Linked DNA regions of Homo sapiens: all the other regions are linked to region 3. The links are contacts of gene promoters, found by promoter capture Hi-C in blood cells and fetal thymus (Javierre and others, 2016). All regions are on one chromosome and are shown on one strand. Each heading gives the region's core, a stretch centred on a gene start or on the middle of the fragment in contact. The rest is flanking DNA. Distances are from core to core; before and after follow the strand shown.

Evidence for each region. The method cuts DNA at HindIII sites, captures the fragments that hold promoters and counts their contacts. A CHiCAGO score of 5 or more calls a contact.
Region 1: the fragment with the promoter of FOXP3 here is called in contact with the fragment with the promoter of PORCN in region 3 in 2 of 17 cell types (activated CD4 T cells and neutrophils); the score reaches 7.2 in activated CD4 T cells.
Region 2: the fragment with the promoter of ZNF81 here is called in contact with the fragment with the promoter of PORCN in region 3 in 2 of 17 cell types (M0 macrophages and neutrophils); the score reaches 5.5 in M0 macrophages.

Annotation. Positions count from the first base shown.
Region 1 is chrX:49,261,274-49,265,992 of GRCh38, reverse strand. It overlaps FOXP3 (forkhead box P3), which reads left to right and starts at 1,283. Exons shown (of 12, transcript NM_014009.4): 1 at 1,283-1,332. The HindIII fragment of the contact is 2,410 bases long and covers 1-2,409 here.
Region 2 is chrX:47,835,495-47,840,314 of GRCh38, reverse strand. ZNF81 (zinc finger protein 81) reads right to left here and starts at 3,413. Exons shown (of 5, transcript NM_007137.5): 1 at 3,328-3,413. RefSeq lists an enhancer at 3,286-3,665. The HindIII fragment of the contact is 3,931 bases long and covers 1,053-4,820 here.
Region 3 is chrX:48,506,256-48,511,132 of GRCh38, reverse strand. PORCN (porcupine O-acyltransferase) reads right to left here and starts at 2,141. Exons shown (of 15, transcript NM_203475.3): 1 at 2,030-2,141; 2 at 1,177-1,349. The coding sequence starts at 1,312. It overlaps PORCN-DT (PORCN divergent transcript), which reads left to right and starts at 2,294. Exons shown (of 2, transcript NR_135596.1): 1 at 2,294-2,414; 2 at 4,078-4,607. RefSeq lists a silencer at 1,915-2,314. The HindIII fragment of the contact is 7,257 bases long and covers 1-4,877 here.

The DNA of each region.
Region 1 (4,719 bases), core at 34-2,533, 760 kb before region 3:
GGGGATTTCAAAGCCCAGCACCAAAGAAAGCGGGACCCACACTCGCCAGCTCTGTGATCTTGGGCAAGTTGCTTGACTACTTATACCTCCGTTTCCCTCATCTGTATAACAGGAATACAATAATGATGAGATGGAGCTCAAGGGGCCATGGTGAGGATTGAACATGATCACTTGTGAGACATGTTCAGCACTGTATCTGACCCATGGAAAATTCAAGATAAACATCAGCTACTGAGATGATGGCGGATATTTGGAATCCTAAATCCTTGGAAACTGGGGCTTTTTGAAGTAAAAGACCCCAAAGGCTGAGGGCCTCAGAAGCATCAGGCCATGATGTTCCTGAAACAAGAGGGTCAGGGTCCCAATGGGCCTCTGGGGTTCATCGTGAGGATGGATGCATTAATATTGGGGACCTGCTAGGGACCTTCCCAGTGGGACAGTGGCTGGGTCAGGGCACTCAAGCCCTAAAACGTGATGAGGCGAGACTTTTCTCTCTTTCCTCATTCAGTAACTGTCAGTAGATTCTGGGAGCCAGGGATTCTCCGACTCTTCAAGTCCATGAATTTTAGGGGATGACAGTGGGCTCTCCGCTTTCTCCTCCATGAAGTAACTTACATGCCCCTCACCCTCTGTGGGAGGGGTGTTGCAGGGGGTGCAGAACTCCCCTCGCCGGGTAGTTCAAGCAATGGGGACCATATCAATTCCATCTATAGGGAAACTGAGGCCTGGAGTAGGGCGAGGCCTCTGGGAACCCAGCCCTATTCTGTCTCTTTCCCTGGCATTTCCCATCCACACATAGAGCTTCAGATTCTCTTTCTTTCCCCAGAGACCCTCAAATATCCTCTCACTCACAGAATGGTGTCTCTGCCTGCCTCGGGTTGGCCCTGTGATTTATTTTAGTTCTTTTCCCTTGTTTTTTTTTTTTCAAACTCTATACACTTTTGTTTTAAAAACTGTGGTTTCTCATGAGCCCTATTATCTCATTGATACCTCTCACCTCTGTGGTGAGGGGAAGAAATCATATTTTCAGATGACTCGTAAAGGGCAAAGAAAAAAACCCAAAATTTCAAAATTTCCGTTTAAGTCTCATAATCAAGAAAAGGAGAAACACAGAGAGAGAGAAAAAAAAAACTATGAGAACCCCTCCCCACCCCGTGATTATCAGCGCACACACTCATCGAAAAAAATTTGGATTATTAGAAGAGAGAGGTCTGCGGCTTCCACACCGTACAGCGTGGTTTTTCTTCTCGGTATAAAAGCAAAGTTGTTTTTGATACGTGACAGTTTCCCACAAGCCAGGCTGATCCTTTTCTGTCAGTCCACTTCACCAAGGTGAGTGTCCCTGCTCTCCCCTACCAGATGTGGGCCCCATTGGAGGAGATGGCAGGGAGGTAGGCACGGCGGGGGGGTCAGGGGCCCTCTGGTACAGTGGGATGTACCCAGCTACCGTGATTCCAGCCAGGTAAGGTCTTTAAAAAAATAATAGAATAAATGGCAGAAGACTTAAAGGTGAAGTACTTAATGCATGGGCAGGGGCAAAAATAAATGAATTCATCAATTGATACGTAGATGGATAGGATTTTTAAAATATGTCAGCTGCCAGTCTTTATGGATTTCAGAGCTTTGAACAACTTGAAATGCTGTCCAGGTGCAACTGAAAATTTCAACTGCATCTCTCTCATCTCTTTGTCTCTTAGCTCTTGATGCCTCTCATCCTTCTCTGTCTCTCTGCTCACCCTGTCTTGCTCTTTTACATGTTTCTCTGCCTCTCTTTCTCCCGCCATCTGTCTGTCGCTACACTCAGACTCTCTTTCCCCGCATCTCTCCTGGCCTCTGACCATCTCCCCTATCTCTGTCTCCTCCATCTTGACCACACTCCATCGATCTCCTTTCCTCCATCTCTCCCGCTCTCTTTTCTTGCCTTCCCCCACCTGCCTTCCCAGCCAGCATCCAGCCTAGAGCTTTGTACACAGCTGGCGTTTAATAATAGTAATGTCGCCGAGGACCTTTACATTTTATGAGAGTGAGCATCAGTTCTGTTCACCCTAGTAGCAGGAGGATTGCAAGGTGCCGGGGCAAGCTGAGCACTTAACTGAACTTTGCTTGTATCGCTTTAGAGGAGACCCTTGGGGCGGGGGGGCAGGGAGCACTTCACACCATTGTCAACCGTAGTTTAGCTGTGTGGACCTACCCCAGGACTGCATGTGTGTGACCAGAGTCCATATTCAGGAAGCAAACAGGTTGTTCAGGGCTGGGGTGAGCTCGATTCTGCAGGCTTAGCACAGCGTTTGGCACAAAGTAAGTGCTCACGAAGTGTTAGCTATTAGTATTTCTGTAACCAAATTAGAATCATGCTATATATTGGTTTTGTTCCTGCTTTATTCAATTAACAGTAGTGTTTTTGAAGCTTACTAAAAATTGTTTGAACACATGATCTTTCATGATGGACAAGACTGTCCTCACATCAGCATGAACTTTGATTGATTTGACCAAGTGCCGATTGTTGGACATTCCGGTTGTTTCTCGTTTTTTTCTATAAACATCCCTGACTGCTTCCTTGGATTCCTGAAAAGGGAGTTGCTGGGGCAAAGGGGGCGTGCATTTTTAAAGTTTATGACCCTCTCTGCTAATTCTCCTTCCAAAAGGTTGTCCTATTTTATGCTCCCTCTACTTAAGCTAACCCTAGGTGAGTATTATTATGTTTTAATTATTTCCCAACATGACAGGTAAGAAAAACACATTATCACATTGTTGAAATTTGCATCTTGTGATTACTTTTACTATTCATTGGCCATTCATGCTTTTTTTTTTTTTTTTTTGGTTGTCTGGTCATGTCCTTACTCCTAATAGGGTGTTCATCTTATTTTTCCCTTATTGATTTGCCACAGCTCTTTATTTGGAATGGTTATTAACCTTTCATCAGCCATTACATATATAGCAAATATTTTCCCCAATTCATCATTTGCTTTTTTTCTATTTGTTTATGGTGTTTTTTGTGATGCTTATGATGGTTTTATACAGTCAAATAGGTTAGTCTTTTTTTCTGTGGCTTCTGTCTCTGGTTTTGTGCTTAGAAAGTCCTTTCCTACTTGAAAATGAGATAAATGTTCACCTATGTTGGCTTCTAGTCTCTTTTATGGCTTCATTTTTTCCATTTACTATAGAGGTTAAGAGTGTGGGTACTGGAGCCAGACTGTCTGGGACAAACCCAGCGTCACCCCAAGCCCTATGTGTGATTTTTAGCCAGGCACTTAACCTCTCCATACCTCCATTTCCTCATATGTACTGCAATGGTTATAATAGTACCTTCCTCAGGAGTCTTTGTTTAGATTAAAATTTTTAACCACAGTAAATACTTAGCACAAGGCCTGACACACAATAAACCCAAGATCAGCATTAGGTGTTAAAACTTATATCTTGAATGGATCTGGGCATTTTAGGGTATATGATGATGGTGACATTTCAAACTGGGCAGGGAGGGGTTGTTGGGATAATGGACTGACTATTCACTCAATAACTTTATCTTCTCCCTAATTATCTCAGACACATTTGTTAAACCATACTCCATGGTCCTCCAGTTTGAAATGCCACATTCATCACAAATTCAGTTCTCTCCATATGTGGGTCCATGTCCAAGCTTTCTATTCTGTTCTCTTCCCCAGTATCTGTTCTTATACCAGGGCCACACTGTTTTGCTGATTGTTGCTTTGCAATACAATTCAATACCCAGCCATGGGTGTCCCTGGCACCTTGCCCTTCTTTATTCTTGATTATTTCAGGCAGCATCAGTTGAACCAGCCAGAGACCAGCAAATGTTCTTATTTGAGGCAATCCTCCTCTCGCACACATGCACTCTGGCTCTCCATGCATGTGTCCATTTCTCTCAATGTCTCTCACTATCTCTTGTTCTCTCTTGCTCGCTCTTTGTGTGTGTCTCTTTGTCTCTATGTATCCCTATCTCTCAGCCAGTCCCCTGGATAGAGGGGCAATTGTCAACTTGAAGCCCTGCAGACACCTAATGACTTAACCAGACAGCGTAGAAGGGCCCTGGCCCTTGTCTACTCCACGCCTCTCCGTGCTCAGTGTAGAAGGGCAAATTGAAGACCAGAGATCTCAGGGCCTCACCGAAATGCAGCGGCAGAGTTGAAATCCAAGCCTAGATCTCAGGACTCTAGGTGGGACCCTGGTTCTGGCTCTCTCCCCAACTGCAGGCCTCAGTTTACCCCTCAGCACCCAGAAGGGGGAAGGGGAACCTGGGCTACCATTCCCCCTTCTGCCTTCTCACACGTTGGACCCCAACTTCCCACAGGTTGGACGATCCACGATCACAGTGTGGGGCCCAGCCTCACAAGAGCTGGGCTAGGTGAGGCCCCGGACTCCATAGGTCAGGAGGCCTAGTTGGCCAGAGCGTGGTGATGATGGAGGCATGTCAGTCAGTCAGGCTGTGTGTCCCCAGAGCTGGTGCTGGTCCCCGAAAACCTTGATTGTGGGGCCCCTCTAGAGAGTCTGATGATGGGCTCTGTATTGGCGAAGGCTGAGGCTTTTCCAGCTCCCCCCATGAGGCCCAGACCAAAGGCACACCAGCCTCAACCTCCTCCTCCCCCTGTTGCCATCTCTGGCGGAGTGGCCATGTATTTGGGAACGTTGTTCCAGAGTGGACAGGGAGACTGAGGCCCTAGGGAGGCTGGCTCTGTTTCCAGGCCTGGTAGGCAAGAGGCC
Region 2 (4,820 bases), core at 2,164-4,663, 670 kb after region 3:
TGGTTAATGAGTAACTCTAGCATTTGTATAATGCTTCCTAAGAATCCTGCAGCAGTCGACCAAGCCCAGGGACATAATTGAATCTGGAGATTCCTGGGGACTTGTTTTGAAAAAGACTCGAAATACACATAGGAAGAAAGGCACAAAAATAAATGTTCACTTGTCTCTGCAAAAAAAAAAAAAAAAAGAGAGAGAAGACATGAAGACACAAATTACCAATATTAGAAATGAAACACAGAGATGTAACTGCAGATCCTGCAGCCATTAAAACAGGGGTATCTAATCTTTTGGCTTCCCTGGGCCCCACTGGAAGAAGAATTGTCTTTCACCACACATAAAATACACTAACACTAACGATAGCTGATGAGCTTTAAAAAAAATGCAAAAAAAACTCACAATATTTTAAGAAAGTTTACGAATTTGTGTTGGGCTGCATTCCAAGCTGTCCGGAGCCACATGTGGCCCACGGACAGCGGGTTGGACAAGCTTGCATTAAAAGGATAGTAAGGGAATACCACAACAACTTTGTGCACATAAATTCAACAACTTGGATGAAACAGTCCAATTCCTTGTAAAATGCAAAGTACCACAATTCACCCACTATTAAATGCAGGTTGAATGTCTCTTATCCAAAATGCTTGGGAACAGAAGTGTTTCAGATTTCAGTTTTTTTTTATTTTGGAATATATGCATATACATAATAAAGTATCTTGCAGAATGAGACCCAAGTATACACACAGAATTCATTTATGTTTCATGTACACTATGTTACCTTATAACATAGCCTGAAGGTAATTTTATATAACATGTTTAATAATTTTGTGCATGAAACAAAGTTTTCACTGCATTTTGACTGTGACCTGTCACAAAATCAGGTGTGAAATTTTGCTTGTGGCATTATGTTGGCACTCAGAAAGTTTTGGATTTTGAAGCATTTTGGATTTCAGATTTTTGAATTAGGGATGCTTAACCTGTAGTCTAAAATGATATTAAATAGATAATCTGAATAGTTACATAACTATTACAGACATTGAAGCCATGATCAAAAAGCTTCCAAATGGAAGTTTCCAGGCCCAGATGGCTTCACTGGAGAAGTCTACCAAATATTTAAATATTTAAATAAAAATTAGTACTTATTCTACACAGTCTCTTCCAGAAAACAGAAGAGGAGGAAATAGTCCCCAACTCATTCAATGAGGCCAGTATTACCCTAATACTAAAACCAGACAAAGCCAAGAGCAGTGGCTAACACCTGTAATCCCAGCACTTTGAGAGGCTGAGGCAGGAGGACTATTTGAGCCCAGGAGATTGAGACCAGCCTGGGCAACATAGTGAGACCCGGTTTACAAAAAATAATAAAATTAGTTGGGTGTGGTGGCGTGTGCCTGGAGTCCCAGCTACTCAGGAGGCTGAGGTGGAAGAATCACTTGAGGCTGGGAGGTCAAGGCTGCAGTAAGCCATGGTCACACCACTGCATTCCAGCCTGAGGAACAGAGTGAGAGCCTGTCTCAAAAATAAAAAATAAAACCAGACAAAGATAGTATAAAAAAGAAAACTATAGACAAATATTTCCCATGAACTTAGATGCAAAAATCCTCAAAAAAGCATTAGCTAATCAATTCCTTCAATATATCCAAAGAATTATACATCACAACCAAGTAGGGTTTATTCCAGGAATGTAAGACTAGTTCAATATTCAAAAATCAATCAGCATAACCCTCCATACTGACAAGCTAAAAAAGAAAAAAAATCACAAGATCATCAAAATTCAGAGTGTTGATGAAATTCAACACCCATTCACGATAAAAACTACTTTTGAAATTAAAAATAGAGGGGAACTTCCTCAACCAAAAAAGAGGGTCCAAAAAAAGAAAGCCCTACAGCTAAAATCATACTTAATGGTAAAAGGTTGAATATTTTCCCCCTAAGACTGAAAACAATGCAAAGATGTCCACTCTCTTATTCAACATAGTACTGGAACTTCTTGCCAGTGTAATAAGGGAAGAAAAGCAGAGGTATAAAGATTGGAAAGAAAGAAATAAAACTATCCCTGTTTGTATATGACATGATTGCTCATGCAGAAAATCCAAGGAATCTGCCAAAAAAGGTGTAAAACCTAATAATTGAGCTCAGCAAGATTGCAGGATACAAGACCAACAGACAAAACTCAATTGTATTCCTATATATAAGCAACAATTTAAAAGATAACACCATTTATGACCACTCCAAAACAATTAAATACTTAGGTATAAATTGAATAAGACATGTACAGAACTTGGGTGATGAAAATTAAAATACACCATTTATAGAAATTTTAAAAGATCTAAATAAATAGAGAGACATACTATGTATATGGATTGGAAGACTTGGCACAGTTAAGACTTAACTTCTTCCCGAGTTGGTATACAGGTTTAATGCAATTCCTATCAAAATCCAAGCAAGATGCTTTGTAGATAGAGACAAGATTTTCTAAAATGCATATAGGAAAGGCAAGGGAACCAGAGGCATTAAAACAATTTTGAAAAAGAATAAAGTGAGAGGAATCACTCTATCCAATTCAAGACAGCAAGGTAGTACTGGCAGAGGGATAGACACATAGACAATGAACTGAATAGCAAACCCAGAAAGAGCCCACACACAAGTATGGCCAACTTATTTTTGACAATGGTGAAAGACAAGTCAATGGAGGAAAGATAGTCTTTTCAACAAATGGTGCTTCAGTCTGGACATCCATAAGCAAATTAATGCACCTCGACCTAAGTCTCATACTTTATACAAAAAGTAACTCACAGAGGATCACAGACAGCAGTAAGGAGACACAGACAAATCACCATCACAGTGGAGAATTTCTCTCTCCTCGAAGTAATAGAAGAAGCAGACAAAAAAGGATAGATTTTCTATGACACAATTGACGACTAAATAATTAAATATTATTTTCAAGTTATATATAGAACGTTTCTAAAAATTCACCACGGACTAGGCCATAAGTCTCCTTATATTTCAAGGAATGAGCTTCACGTAGATATTTTTCTAACACAGAAAACTAAGGTTAGAGATCCATTACAGAGATAAACTTTTGCACACTGAAACCCCACTTTTGAATAACTCCCGGGTAAAAGACAAATGAATACAAGTTAACACTCTTAAAAAACATAATGCTCCAAACCCAATGGGGCTTAGAATGAACTTTAAGACCTTAACGGTGATGTTAGAAAAGAGAAAAGCCTGCAAAATGATGAGTGAATCATCCAACTCAAGTTAGATAAACGATTCCATCACTGGCCACACAGAATCGCCCAGCACTCACCCTCCCCGGCCCCCCATCACCTCCACATCCCTGGGCACTGAACGTCGAATCCTCCTGACAACTATCAAACCCCGGCTGAGAACCGGCGAGAACCGCAGCCGCTTCCGGTCACTACCCCTAGCACCGCCCTTTTTCGGGGTTTGGGACTTCACATGAATGAGGGAAGCGGAGGTTCCGCGCGTGCGCAAAACCACCTTTGAAGCTGCTGTTAGCCAGGAGTCAACATGGAGAAGTTACGGAAGTGGGTGCTTTGGGACGTTCGGTACCCCTCGGCGGCGTGGTCAGGTGGGGAACATGGCCGCGCCCACGTCGCGCTTCCCCATGGGATACACCATGTTGGAGGAGTGTCCATCCGTATTGAGGATGAGGACACCTCTGAACTCACAGAGCAGGCTGTGAGTTTAGAGCTGTCTGCTCTAAACTCAGGTGGAGCTGTCCCGCTGGTGGCAGGGAGCACGGGTGGGGACGTTTCTCTGGGCGGGCTAACTGGAGGAGGGGGTCTTTGGACCTGTAGTCTATGGATCTGTGTGATACCGCTCCGAGAAACTGAAGGGCCTCTTGGAAAGAATCAGGGGCGGCCGCGGCTATCTCCTGGCAGATACCACAGGATGAGAAGCGGGGAGATGTCAGGCTGGTTACAGGCTTCTCCTAGGACATACCACAAGGGGAGGAGGAGGAGGAGAAATCATGGTTATGCAAGCCCTCCTAGGATATGCCATGAGGTGGGAAAAAGGGAGAACTCAGAGTGCTGGGTTCCCCTCCTGCTGTGCCTGTGGGGCTTGGATGCGAGGTTTGAATGCTGCAGCAATTTACCTTATCTCCCACTCCATCTACCCCAGCTAAAAAGGGACTACGTAGTACCAATACTAATAATTTTTAATGTGTCCTTAGTCCAATGCAATATGTCAATAAAAATCTTTAGGAAACTTTATTATTTTTATTTCCTCATGAAGTAAAATATATGTGGTCATGGTGCCCTTACTTTGGAAATGTAGCTTTAATACAAGGCTCTGCTTCTACCCTTCAACCAGTTTGCTGCTCCATATCACCTCCAATGTGTAAATTCTGGAGATGCCCCTGCCCTCTGGGAGATGTCACTGGAGCAGAAGGGGAAGAAGTCGTGCAGTCCTTCACCTAAGAATGCCTATTCATCCTTCAAAATCAAGTTCAAATATCTCCTCCTCCAGAGAATCCTGACAGAGCTAGAAGCCTGTGTGCCCTCCTGAAAGCCTTTCTGAATCCTCAGGTGAAAAAAATATTTTGAGAGGACCTGGTGTAGGCTGAAGTGTGGACTTGCTGGGGGCTCTCAATCCAGTCTTATCCCCTCTGGCCCTCGGTTTAACAATCTCGAAGGTTAGAGGTGTCCTAGTCCAATTAGCCTCAAACTAATTTTTAGTCTGACAGATCCAGCAATCAATAAGGGAGACTGCACACCAGGGGCACCATGGGCAGCTCACTAAGCAAAGGAAAAGATAGAGTTCTTATAGGATTTTGAGGAATAGTGGAGTTCAGA
Region 3 (4,877 bases), core at 892-3,391:
AGCCAGGGCAAAGGCCTTCAGGCTGGAATGTAGTGGGATTGGAGGGGCCCAAAGCAGGTGTTGGGGAGCTGGAGAGGGTGGCAGGGCCTGGGTTTAAAGAAAAGAAACATCTATAAAGGGCATTTGGGGGACCTTGGAAGAAATTCAAATATCAATTTATATAGGATAACATTATTGTATCCAGATTCAATGTCTTGTGGGGTGATGGTGGAGGATGTGGTTGTGGGAGATGATGTCCTTGTTCTCAGGGGCCACACACTGAAGGATGTGGGGTACAGTGTCATGATGTCAGCAGGTTATTCAGGCAATTCAGGAAGATGATAGATAGATAGATGGATAGATAGATAGATAGATAGATGGATAGATATACAGATAGATAGATAGATAGACAGATAGAGCCAGCTAACGTGGCAAGATGTTGACAGAGAATCTGGTGATGCATACGTGGGTGCTCACTGTACTATTTTTTCAACATTTCAGTAGCTTTGAAAAATTTCAAAATAATAAACCTGGGAAAAAATAGAACATCCATTTAAAATTAAAAAAGAAAGAAAGAAAAAAGAAAGTGTAGAACCTTCGGATCTCAGATTTCCAGAAATCTCCGCCTCCTATAGGAATCTTGGGGACTTGGAATCTTTCATTAAGATACAGGCCTGCTATGACTGTGGAAACATTTCAGAATCCTAGAATCCAGAAATCGCATCATGCCCTGATTATAGAAATCCACAATGCCAACATTTTAGAAGTCTAGAATGTGAGAATTTCAAATTGTCAGAATCTCCAAACGCTGTAATCATGGTACTTTGGGATTCCATAACCCTGTGACATCAGCATGCCAATGTCTTATAACCTTGGGATGTAGACATTTCAGAATCCCAAGATCCAAGAATCTCAGCTTTCTGGAATCCCAGAACTCAGGAATACTGAAGGGCATGGCTTGGCATGGCAGGATGTGGCTCGGTGTGGCATGGCATGGGGTGGCTGGCATAGTAGGATGTGGTATGGTGGAATGGGGTTTGGCCTGGTGGGATGTGGTGGGGCTGAACATGTTGGGGTCCAGCTTGGACATGCTAGGGCCTGGCAGGATGTGACAGGGTAAGGTGTGGCTCGATATGGATGAATGTGGGAGGTCTGATATGGCCTGGCATGGTGGCACACGGTATGGCAGGCACTTACCGAGCCTCCAGAGGAGGCGGCAGGCGAGGCAGATGGCAAGGAGCAGCCAGATCTGGTCAAGGCCCTGCTGGGCAGTAGGCAGGAGACAGCCTTGCAGTAGCTGCTGGAAAAATTCCTGGCGGCTAAAGGTGGCCATTGCAGACCCCCACGGATGGATGGCCAGATGGATAGATCTGTCAAAGCAGGGACACAGAGGGAGCGGGTGTCCGTGGGGCAGACCTCGCTTAAAGGATGCACTCTGGCACTCACATTTCAGTTTGGGGCTGCCCAGCCCATGTAGAGGCACGGTACTGGAGGACTGGGGGAAGGCGTGAGAAGTCAGGTACATCAGACTGAGCCACCAACTGTGTGCATGTGGGTGTTCGGCATGCACACGCACAGCCTGTGACCTGGAGTGAATGAAGGACCTCTGTCTCTCCAGTGCTGTGAACAGTCCAGTCCGATGGTGATGGGATGGCATACATTTCAGGCCCATATATCAAATGGGGCGGGCGACGGGAAGGGGAATCCCTGGTTTCCAAGGTAGAGTCGCTCTGAGTGGAGGGCAGAGAGGGGGATTCTGTGACACTTGGGGGCCGTGTGCATCTCTCCTTGTATGGATGCGGCGGCACGGGGAGGGGGGGTGTCCTGTATCCTCCGCGCCCCCCATCTCATCCCCACCCGGCGAGAGGCCGCCAACAAAGTCCTGCCCAGGTCCGGGGGCTGCAAGGAGGTGGTGGTAGGAGACATAGCCTGAGGGAGAGTCGGAAAGGTGATGGGGAGGGGGTCCTAGCACTCGCGCTACAGATCCGCCTGGGGAGGCCGGCCCAGGGATGGGAGCTGGGGAGCCGCGTGCGCACTACTGGCGACCTACCTGGCAGGAAAGAAGCCGTGGTCCTGGGGACCGAGGACGCGCTGCCGCCGCCGCTGCCTCCTCCGGGCAGCCTCCCCCGCAGGCCGCAAGGCCGGGACCAGCAGCGGCTCCCAGAGCGGCGCGGCGAGCGGGCCCTTTAAATCCCGGGGCGGCCCGGCCGCCGGCTCGGCCAATGGGAGAGCAGGAGGGGGGCGGGGACGGGGACGCGGAGGAGGGGAGCAGGAGGATTGAGGGGAGACCGGCGCGGGGGGACGTCGGCGCGCAGGACGTTCACGCCCGCACCTTTCCGGCCTGTGGCGGTTTCAGCCCCAGACCGTCTGCCTCCGGAGGATTTCTGGCCATCCAAGAACAAACTTCCGAATCTCCAAATTTCCAAGCCTTGGAAGTGAGAAGGGAAAGATGGGGGAGGGAGGAGGGAAGCCGCTGCACCCCCAAATAGTCACCCGCGCACGTCCTCTAAATACCGTGGTGTCCCCGTTTCACAGATGGGAAAACAAACCGAGATCTCTCCTTCCCCAACCTTTGAGAGAACCGAAGTAACTCCCAACCCTCCCACCTCCTGGGACCGGCCAGGAACATTTATAAGTAATGACTGTGTCACCTAGGAACACAAATTAGGCGCCTGTGCTTCCCCTGGGGACGAGCTGTGAGCACTTGGCGTGTCGTCGTTGAGAAGTGATTTGCATGCTTAATTCCCCAGCAGACTCTTTGCTTCGAAGGTGACCCCAGCGACTAGTAAATGTTCTCTGTGAACTAGAGGGAGGCTAGTACCGAGCACTTAAAAGGGGGGCATTTATAAAGCTCTTAAGGGCCAGGCTCGGTGGCTCACGCCTATAAACCCAGCACTTCGGGAGGCCAAGGGTAGGAGGATAGCTTGAGGTCAGGAGTTCGAGACCAGCCTGGCCAACATGGCGAAACCCCGTCTCTACTAAAAATACAAAAATTAGCCAGGCGTGGTGGCGCACGCTTGTAATCCCAGCTACTCGGGAGGTTAAAGCAGGAGAATCAGGAGGCAGAGGTTGCAGTGAGCCAAGATCGCGTCATTGTGGGCTACAAGAGCGAAACTCCGTCTCAAAATAAATAAATAAAGACTGGGCGTGGTGGCTCACACCTGTAACCCAGCACTTTGGAAGGCCGAGGCGGATGGATCACCTGAGGTCATGAGTTTGAGACCAGGCTGGCCAATATGGCGAAACCCTGTCTCTACTAAAAATACAAAAAATTTAGCTGGGCGCCTGTAATCCCAGCTACTCCGGAGGCTGAGGCAGGAGAATCACTTGAGCCCAGGAGACGGAGGTTGCAGTGAGCCGAGATCACGCCATTGCACTCCAGCCTGGGTGACAAGAGCAAAACTCCTTCTCCAAAATAAATAAATAAATAAACAAGAGCGAAACTCCTTCTCTAAATAAATAAATAAATAAAATAAAAAAGAAAGCGCTTACACTGGCCCCATCCGCACCTCTATCTGCACCAACACTAAAGATTTATGTAGCACCCGCCTTCTACCTACCCTACTGCTGCAGTTTCTAGGCATTCCCCTTTGTACCTAGGCTGATGAAGGGCCTATTTTTCCAAAAGAGCACTTACTGGGCGCTTACTGCACTACATGCTTAGCTGTGACGTGGAAGGGAGAAGGAAGCCCAGGTCAAACTGGACGCCACCCTGACCTGGGCAGCCAACTGAAACAGATTTTAATCAGATTAACAATGGCCTGTATGGAGCTGGGCAAGTCATGTTCACTCACCCGTCTCCATTGTCCTTTTCTGTTAAACAAAAGAGTGGGCTTGGCAGGTTTTTGCTGGGAAACACCAATGGTAATTGAAGAGAAATGTATATTTTCTCTCTATTTTAACATGAAGTTAAATGGAGTTCTAGCTCATAAATTAGTATTCATGTATTACAAACAAAAAACATTTAATACGGTAAGAATATGTATATATAAGGAATAATAGCTTAGACCAGATGCACAAATATCAATTCTTTTCCTTAACAGCAGAATACAGGACATACATTTTATGAATTAAATTTCATTTTAATTTTTTTCTCAGTTGTCAAACCCACTCAAGTTGAGTCAACAATGACCCACAGCACCTACCAGAAATACTTCCCTCAATTGCAAGACTTGGCATTTAAAACTGGAAGATTCTTACCACATGTGCTCCTGGGCTTTGCGGACTTGATTGTTTCCATCTAGGCTTTTGACCTGTGTCACAAAGAAGTAGGATCTAGGTTTTAGGATATATAACGAACATCTACAAATCCGAAGAGGACAAACAATACACTTGGCAATAGACATTGGGTACAAATAGGTAATTCACAGCAGAAGAAACCTAAAATGGTCAATATGTATAATATATGAAAAGATAACCCAATCTCTTTACTGCTCAGGGAAATGTAAAATTAAAACAACAGTGAGATATAATACCATTTTACATCTACCAGATGTTGTGCTTCATATTTTTATCACTGGAGCTTAGTAGAGGGTGGACACTCAATAAATGTCTGTGGTCATTCTAGGTTGTGGTTTCTGGGGTGTTTTAGATGAGCTCTCCATAATTAAAGAGATACAAATTAAAAACAATGATATACTATTTTTCACTTATGGGACTGACAAAAATGCCAAGCCTTATAATGATAACATATTTGCTCTCTCTCTGTCTCTGTCCGTTTCTTTCTCCCCATGTATATACATATGTAATTTACATATATATAATTTTTCTGAATGATATACAGTGATTTTTCTGAATTATTTGTTAGTGGTTGCGGATATGACACCCTTTTAACTAAATACTTCAGTATGAATATCCTAAGAGCAAGGACTTTTTTTTCTTTTTTTACATTGCTACCA